Regions from separate parts of the Homo sapiens genome. Here region 1 is linked to region 2. The links are contacts of gene promoters, found by promoter capture Hi-C in blood cells and fetal thymus (Javierre and others, 2016). All regions are on one chromosome and are shown on one strand. Each heading gives the region's core, a stretch centred on a gene start or on the middle of the fragment in contact. The rest is flanking DNA. Distances are from core to core; before and after follow the strand shown. Region 1 overlaps SLC39A11 (solute carrier family 39 member 11). Region 2 holds the start of VCF1 (VCP nuclear cofactor family member 1).

Region 1 (4,461 bases), core at 1,931-4,430, 250 kb after region 2:
GGGGGAGATTCTTCCCATTTTCCATGTTTAAAATTAACCTATTAATGACCAGTTTGGACCACATCAGATAGAAAGTAGCTACCGTCTGTATTTGAGTCCATGTGAACATATCTATAAAACTAAGTTTCTGAAAGTGGGATTATACAGTGGATATTTGTGAATTTTCCCTTTTACAGAAATTCTCAAGTTGCCCTTCCTTGAGCTTATACTGATTTATACTTTTACCAGCAATGTTTGAGAATGTCTTTATCCATACCCCATCCCTATAGGGTTTTAGTAAAATTTTTGATTTTTTGTTAATAGGAATAGGTAAAAAATGGTATTTCATGGAGTCTTCTTTGTTTAAAAAAAAAAAAAAATTTTAGAGATGGAGTCTCACCATGCTGCCCAGGCTGGTCTCAAACTCCTGGCCTCAAGCAATCCTCTTGCCTTGGCCTCCCAAGTGGCTGGGATTACAGATGTGTGCCACTGCTCCGGCCTACAGCTTTGTCTTATTAGTCAGCTTAGCATCTTTCCACGTGTTTCAAAGCTGTTTGTATTTCCCTTTCTGTGAAGTGTCTGTGTCTTTCTCTTACTTTTCTGTTCCATGGTTGGTCTTTCCTAACTCATTATTTTGGAGCTCCTTGTGTATTCAGAAAATTATCTGCAATATTATTATAATTCTTTTCTCAGTTGGTCACTTGTGAGTCTGTTTATGGTGCTTCCAACCATGTAGATTTTTATTTAATTTGTACCTCTTTGAACTTAGTCTTTTTTGATTCATACTTAGTAAAGTCTTCCTCATTCCAAGAGGATTAAAAATACCTATTTTTTTTCTACAACTTGGTTTCCTTTTTTTTTTTTTTTGCATTTAAATATTTAATTCATCCAGAATCTATTTTGGTATACAAAGTGAGATAGGGATTAAAATAATCTATTTTGGTATAAAAAGTGAGATAGAGATTAAAATGTATGTATTTCCAGATGGCTCTCAGAAGTCTTGATACCATTTGTTGAATAATCCATCTTTTCTCCGTTAATGTAAATGCCAGCTATAAAATTTACTAAATCAGAAGATGTATTTACGTATTTGCTTCTGGATTTTTGTAGTCCTAAGGTGAATAATAAACTAGCCATTTAGCCAGCCATATGTGTGTATTGAGTGCTTGAAGTGTGACTAGTCCAGATTGAGATGGGCTATAAATAAAAAATACACAGTGGATTTTGAAGACTTACTAAAAATATATATGTATAAAATATCTCATTACCAATTTTTATATTGCTTACCTTATTGAAGTGAAACTATTTTGGATATATTTGGATAAAATAAAATATGTTATTACAATTAATTTCACCTGTTTCCTTCCCCTTGGTGATTGTGCCTACCAGAAAATTTAATGTTATATTTGTAGCTCACATTCTATTTTTTTTTTTTTTTTGAGATGGAGTCTCCCTCTGTCACCCAGGCTGGAATGCAGTGGCATGATCTCAGCTCACTATAACCTCTGCCTTCTAGGTTCAAGTAATTCTCTGCCTCAGCCTCCATAGTGGCTGGGATTATAGGCACCCACCATCATGCCTGGCTAATTTTTGTATTTTTAGTAGAGACGGGGTTTCACCATCTTGGCCAGGCTGGTCTCAAACTCCTGACCTCTTTGATCCACCCGCCTCAGCCTCCCAAAGTGTCGGGATTACAGGCATGAGCCACCGTGCCCAGCCTCACATTCTATTTTTATTATATGGTGCCGCTTTAATCTTTTCAGCTCTGCCTCTTCAGGTACTATTCTGTTTCAGTTGCTGCAACTTCACGTCTTATCATCTATTCGTCTTCTGTATTACTTGTATTACGTTCCTTTTCAAAAGTTTCTTGGTTATTCTTACAGCATATTTTCCCATGTGAACTTTAGCATCAGCTTGCGAATTTCAAGAACATCGTCTAGGTATTTTTTTTTACAAGCTTTGTTTCAAATTTCTACATTAACGTAGGCAGAAATGACAGGTTTATGACGATGAGCGTTTCTGCCTAAGAACAAAGCTCACCACTCCATCTATCCAGGCTACTCATCGCGTCTCCCAGTAGCATTTTAAGTTTTCTTCATAAGGACTTTTCATGTTTAGGGTTGAATGTATTCCTGGGTATTTCATTTCCTTTTATGAGTATTACAGACGGGGTCTCCTATTTCATGACATATTCCATCTGGCCGTTGTTTTTGCATAGAAAAGCTATTGATTTTGTCTTGAGCCACCACTAATTTTGTCTTGAGCCACCAAACAAAATACCTTTTTTTGTTAATAATCGTTCTTTAGATGATTCTTTGAGATTTGTACATGTACAGTAATATCTTCATAAATAAGCACCTGGGTCCCGCTATTGTTGGTGGGAGTTATAGATGCAAATAGGATGTCATGGTCTTAACAGAGCAGGGTGGCTGGGGACAGGAAGGGTGGCTGTCCCAGCTGGAGAGCTGGTGTAGGAATCAGTGGATCCAGCAGCAAGTCGTGGGAGAAGGATGCACCATTTTGGGGAGGTCATGGGAAGTGGGTGTGCTGCTTTGGGGAGCAAGTCATGGGAGGGGTGCTTGCCGCTTTGGGGAGCAGGTTATGGGAGGAGGGCATGCTGCTTTGCCTCCATCTACCTTGGGCAGTAGCATAGGTTTGAGACTCTGCCAGCTGCATCATCTGAGGTCTTGGTTTTCCAGCATGCTACCTGTTATAGGCAAGATTTGTTTTGGGGTCCTGTGTTGGAGGGAGGTGGGTTAGTGTGAGCTCTGCAGAGCAGCCTCCTTGCAGCTCAGCTGGGTAGGGACAAGGCAGGGGCCTGAACTGGCTCGATTTTCTGTGGCGCTTCACACATCAGGACCCAAATTTTCCCTTTTCTAGAAATTCTCAAGTTGCCCTCTCCTGAGCTTGTACTGATTTACACTTTCACCAGTAATGTTTGGGAATGTCTCTATCCGTCCCTCATCCCATTGCCTGCTCTGCTTCTCAAGACAGGTGAAGACAGACAGTATTTCCATGGATCAGATGTGCTCTCGGAGTCCAGGTTCCTCTCAGCATAACTGGAGTGAGAATTATCTGTCTCACTTACATAGCCCCTGTATTAGTCTGTTTTCAGACCATTATAAAGAACTGCCCAAGACTGGGTAATTTATAAAGGAAGGAGGTTTAATTGACTCACAGTTCTGCGTGGCTGGGGAGCCCTCAGGAAAGTTACAATAATGGCGGAAGGTGAAGGGGAAAAAGTAGCTTCTTCACAAGGCGGCAGGAAGGAGAAGTGGCAAGCGAAGGGGGAGGAGCCCCTTATAAAACCATCAGATCTCGTGAGAACTCACTCACTATCACGAGAACAGCATGGGGGAAACTGCCCCCATGATTCAGTTGCCTCCGCGTGGTCTCTCCCTTGACACGTGGTGATTATGGGGTTTACAATTCAAGATGAGATTTGGGTGGAGACACAAAACCTAACCATGTCAGCCCCAGAGCAAGGGCCTTCTTTTTTATCTTTGTAAAATTATGTTTCTGGCTAGTCAGTCACCTCATTGAAAGCAAGACCCAGACCTCATCCTTCTTTGTATCCCAGGGCTGAAGGCAGGGCCTTACCAGAGTTGGCGTGCCCTAAGTGTTCAATGATAACAGAGATGATTTGTTGTTTCCTTTCGTTCTCATGAACAAGTGCTGTTGGCACCTTTCCAAAAAGGTCTTGTGGACCCATCCTGTCCACTCCTTTCCACCCCAGCCTAAGGCATTACTGTCTCTGTCCCAGAACCTGGCCTCCTGACTGGTCCCCCTTACTCCCTCACCTCCACTTCCATGCTCCCCACAGTCTCCCCACCCCCTTCTTAGAAGCTCCCCAAGCCCTGTCCCACCTCCCGGCCTTTGCATCTGCTATTCCTTTTCTCTGAAACAGAGTTCCCGAAGCTCTGTGCGTGGCTGCCTCAGTGCAAATGTCTCCTCCCAAGCTCCTCCCTGACCCCCCACAATGTGCGTGGCTTTCTCTGTTTATTTCCTTCCTAGAACTTGTCAGCAACCTTCCTTATCCAGTTTGTTCGTTTGTATATTTTTTACTTCTTTATCATCGGTTTCCCCACCACAATGTAGGCTCCTTGAGGACAGGGACTTTGTTAGGCTTGTTCTTGGCCGTGTCGCCAACACCAGCACAGTGACTCACAGGGAACAATGCTCGGTAAATATCTGATGAAGGGAGGGAGGGAGCAAGGGAGGAAAGAAGGGAAAGAGGAAGGAAGGAAGGAAGAGGAAGAGGAAGGCAGGGAACGCCTAAGGGCAGGGAAGAGGGCTGTGGTTTGGGGTTTACAAATGGGGCCCAGACGACAGCCCAGATTCTCACTAGAACCTCCCCGTACTTCCCCTGCGTTCGCAGGCTGGAGGACGGCCTGGAAGATTCTCAACGACCACCCTGGCTAGGAATCCAATGATAGAGAAGCTTGCTCGGAGACTGACATTTTGCTGGTTTTTCTCTGGTGA
Region 2 (4,435 bases), core at 1,936-4,435:
TCCTATCATCTTACAGTATGGCAAGTGGGATTTTAATCGTTTAAATGGCTTCTTACAGTAAGGACACACTTCCATTCTGGGTGGATTATCACTCATCCTATTCCTGAAAAAGGTAAATGTGAGATTATGAGAAGCACATAGTTTGTACATACCAATATTTTACTTATGTGTTGTATCTTTTAAATTCATTTGGAACAAGCTAGATGTTTGCTACTTACGGTTACAGCAAGTCAACTAGTCATTATATGAGTATAAAAAATTGTTTAAAAACCCTTAAACACGTTATTCAAGGACAGAATGGTAAAGAATAAAAAACTTAGGCCAGGAACCAAAGGTTATTTATTTATTTATTTATTTTGGAAACAGAGTCTCACTCTGTCACCCAGGCTGGAGTGCAGTGGCACAATATCTGCTCACTGCAAACTCCGCCTCCCAGGTTCAAGCAATTCTCGTCTCAGCCTCCCAAGTAGTTGGGACTACAGGGGCATGCCACCACGCCTGACTAATTTTTTGTATTTTAGTAAAGACGGGGTTTCACCGTGTCCGTGTTACCCAGACTGGTCTCGAACTCCTGAGCTCTGGCAATCCACCCACCTCAGCCCCCTAAAGTGCTGAGATTACAGGCGCGAGCTACCACGCCCACGCCCAGCCAAAGGTTACTGATTACAGCAGAGGTTTCCAAAGTGATAAATAGAATATGCACTAGGGTGTAAGAAGAAAATATTAGAATTACCACAATCAAAGAATGAGAAATGAAGCTCTACTAACATTTAGTAATATGCATATACACACACACACACACACAGATATACATAAAATGTATGCATAATGCACAAATATATACATGGCCAAGGACACAGTCCTGTTTTTCACTTATACTTTTTTTTTTTTTTTTTTGAGACAGAGTCTCACTCTGTCACCAGGCCGGAGTGCAGTGTCGGCTCACTGAAACCTCCATTTCCCAGGTTCAAGCTATTGTCCTGCCTCAGCATCCCGAGGAGCTGGGACTACAGGCATGCGCCACCACGCCAGGCTAATTTTTGTATTTTTAGTAGAGACGGGGTTTCACCATGTTGGCCAGGATGGTCTCAATCTCCTGACTTCGTGATCTGCCCGCCTTCGGCCTTCCAGTGTGCTGGGATTACAGGCGTGAGACACCACGCCTGGCCTACTTATAGTTTCTAGTACAACAGATTACTGGCAAATTAGTTTGACATCTTTGTTAAACATATACGATGTAAAAAATTAAAAAAAAAACATTTATACCATGTATATTTGTACCTGTTATTCTTTAGAGTCCAGAAAAGAAAATGTTTAATTCCAATGTTTAGTTGAAAGTTATTTCCTTTCTACATCTCTTATTCTTTCTATAAAGTTCCAGAGGGCAGGAAACATATCTATCCTGCACACAGCTGTATGTAAAAACCTAGCACTGAGCCTGGCATACAATATTTGTTCACTTAATTCTTTAGATATAAACGTTTAAATATTATTCAGTACTACAACTGATAATATCTTCTGACTACCAAAGAGATTAAAAAGGGTGACTGAAACCACTTACAAAATAGACACAATCTTCACCAATCCATTCAATAAAGCAACCAACCCACCTTATCCTGTACGAAGTCCTTCAAAACAAAACTGTTTTCTGCCAACAGATTACAGTAATCATTTTTACTTTGTTGTTGTTTGGTCTTTTTTTTTTTGAGATGGAGTCTTGCTCTATCACTCAGGCTGGAGTGCAGTGGCGCGATCTCGGCTCACAGCAACCTCAGCCTCCCAGGTTCAAACGGTTCTCCTGCCTCAGCCTCCCGCGTGGCTGGGATTACTGGGATTAAGGGCGTGCGCCACCACGCCCAGCTAATTTTAGTATTTTTAGTAGAGACGGGGTTTCACCATGTTGGCCAGGCTGGTCTTGAACTCCTGACCTCAGGTGATCCACCCGCCTCGGCCTCCCAAAGTGCTGGGACTACAGGCGTGAGCCACCGCGCCCAGCCTGCTGGGATTACAGGCGTGAGCCATCATTCTTTCTTTCTTTGGAGGTACACACTAACAGGATGAAAGCCACAGACTGTTTGTTTACAATAATACACACAAATGAAGCCAGTCCATGGACCTTCGGCTAACAACGTTAGGAAGGGCTTGACACCTGCTAGACGTTTCTGCCTCCACTCCACCTCACACTCAACCCTACTTGAAAGATCCCGGTACATTCCCACGATAACGTCTATACGTGGGTGTCTGTTTTCTTACCCGAGCTCCTCCAGGAGGATGCTAGTTTTGTGGGTGCTTCTCCCGGATCCCCATGCTTCCCCGATCACCGTTCCCGAGTGTGGCAGAATGAAACGTGAATGTCAGCCTGTGTAGGACACGATCAGACAGGTGACTTGGCAGCATGCACAGTGAGTAAACGCGGCACGATACTGAACCAAATAGAAACACAGGTTCCGGAAAGCAGAGAGTTAAGACCTCCCCAGCCTCCGGGCTCAAGGAGGACCTCAATAGTTCCACTAATCCTCACCCTCACCTCCGGCGCTCTCCAGCCGCCTTTCCCTCCTCCCGCTGCGTTACCAGCCTGCCCACCTCCCCGCACCCTTCCTTTCCCTGAAAGCTGTTCTGATTCTGCCAGCTGTTCTGATTCTGCGGAGTGGATGGGGTCGGCCCGGCAGCTCCTGGGTCAGGGACAGCCGTTCCCGCAGCCCCACCGAGGATTTCCTCCTGCGGTTCCAGGAAGACCCTCCGCCGGCCCCGGCACCCGATTCCCTACCCTCTCCGCTCAGGAGAGTCTCCCCCAGACTTAGAACGTGGGCCGCGGAAAACAAACCCGCCCTTGCAAGCTCCCCACAGAGCACCGTCCTCACCTCGGAAGACCTGAAAGCCCAGGCGGCCCCGGCGACAAGCCCCCCAGGGAAGCCCCCCAGGCCCCTGCCCAACCCCCGGCCAAGGAACCTCGTCAGGCCGTCTGCACCACTGCCGGATAGGTCCGCCTGTTTTAAAATATGTTACACGGATTCAACTCAAATACTTGTATGATATTATTATGACATAATTGAATTTATTTGAAACCTGGCTTGACTTTTATACCGTACCCTCCGTTGGCTGTGAACAGGCGAGCGCTTCTGCCACCCCAGGGGAGGTCCTTTCTCCCAGAAGCTCCTAGTCGCTCCTCCCGCTCCGAGCCCGCCTCTTCCCGTGGGCGGGGTTACCAGTCGGTGCGGTTGGGATGGTGCCACTGCGCAGCCGCGAGAGGGCGGTACCACGGCGGCAGCGACATGGGGGGGCGCGGAGCAGACGCCGGAAGTAGTGGTGGTACGGGTCCGACTGAGGGGTACTCGCCACCGGCTGCGTCCACCCGAGCGGCTGCGAGAGCCAAGGCCCGAGGGGGTGGGCGTGGCGGCCGCCGAAACACAACCCCCTCTGTTCCCTCTCTTCGCGGAGCGGCGCCGCGTAGCTTCCATCCGCCAGCTGCCATGAGCGAGCGCCTCCGTCCCAGGTGAGAGGGAAGGGACCCCCTTTCCATTCGTCGCCTGAGGATCTGGGAGATAGAGCCGAGGGGGCGCGCGAAATGGGGGTCGGAGCAAGAGTGGACCCGGCGGGGCTCCCTGTGGGGTGCACTGCGGGCCGGGGGAGGAGGGGAGAGGGATGCGCGAGTGATCGGATGCTTGGTTCCTGTGGGTAGCTGGAAGGTGACTCTCCGGGGTCCAGGTCTCCCGCCCCTCCATCTTTTTTCCCCCCTGTCTTTTCCTATTTGGAACGAAGTGTGATCGGTCCCGGAAGAGAGACGGTGGCCCTAAAGCTTTCCTGTCCTAAATTTAGGAGGGTGGGGGGATGGGATAAACGTCTCATCTTGGAGAGGGAGCCCCCAAAGGCTTTTGTGAGGGCACCGGGCGGGGAGCTGCCGGCTCCCCAAGGTCAGAAAGAAAGGTTGGGCTTAACCCCGCAGCAGGGAAAGATTCGGTTAGACCGAAGAACTTGTGCCCTGAACGGTTGTGAACACAGAAGGGCAGATGACCAAGGCGGGTTATGGATCTTCTCTTGACTGTGGCATTAAGAACAAGCTGGATTCTAAACTGTTTGGATTGCGGGGCCGTTTGACTCCGAAGGCGGGAGGAAAGATTTTATCGCGATGCACTCGCTACCTTCCCGAGGGAGCCTGGCCTCGGGACGCGGGTCTTAAATTAGGGGTTCTGTGCTTGACATGTACTACTAGAGTCCGGACTAAGTTGGGATTTCTTAATTTTTTTCTCTCTCTTAATTTCCTCTGCAAGAATGTGTGGAGGAGAAAGTTGGGAAAGGTTACCTCAGAATGCTCTTCCTGTTACGGTCTTTCCACAAGGATCCTTCTCTGAAATAATTATTTCATGTGATTGAAGTTCTCAAAAGTATTCTGAGTTTATTTGGTCCCATAGTGAAAACCTAGGGTTCCCCAAGCTGC

Evidence for each region. The method cuts DNA at HindIII sites, captures the fragments that hold promoters and counts their contacts. A CHiCAGO score of 5 or more calls a contact.
Region 1: a fragment that was not itself captured here is called in contact with the fragment with the promoter of VCF1 in region 2 in 2 of 17 cell types (megakaryocytes and neutrophils); the score reaches 5.9 in megakaryocytes.

What each region holds. Positions count from the first base shown.
Region 1 is chr17:72,977,980-72,982,440 of GRCh38, reverse strand. All of the region lies in intron 4 of SLC39A11 (solute carrier family 39 member 11), which reads left to right. Among named protein-coding and RNA genes, the nearest start is that of SLC39A11, 110 kb to the left of the region's middle. RefSeq lists an enhancer at 4,037-4,461. The HindIII fragment of the contact is 2,484 bases long and covers 1,939-4,422 here.
Region 2 is chr17:73,231,144-73,235,578 of GRCh38, reverse strand. VCF1 (VCP nuclear cofactor family member 1) reads left to right here and starts at 3,185. Exons shown (of 4, transcript NM_001098832.2): 1 at 3,185-3,493. The coding sequence starts at 3,273. MTNAP1 (mitochondrial nucleoid associated protein 1) reads right to left here and starts at 3,146. Exons shown (of 6, transcript NM_001351264.2): 1 at 3,090-3,146; 2 at 2,254-2,359; 3 at 1-103. The coding sequence starts at 96. RefSeq lists an enhancer at 3,692-4,435. The HindIII fragment of the contact is 5,222 bases long and covers 1-3,798 here.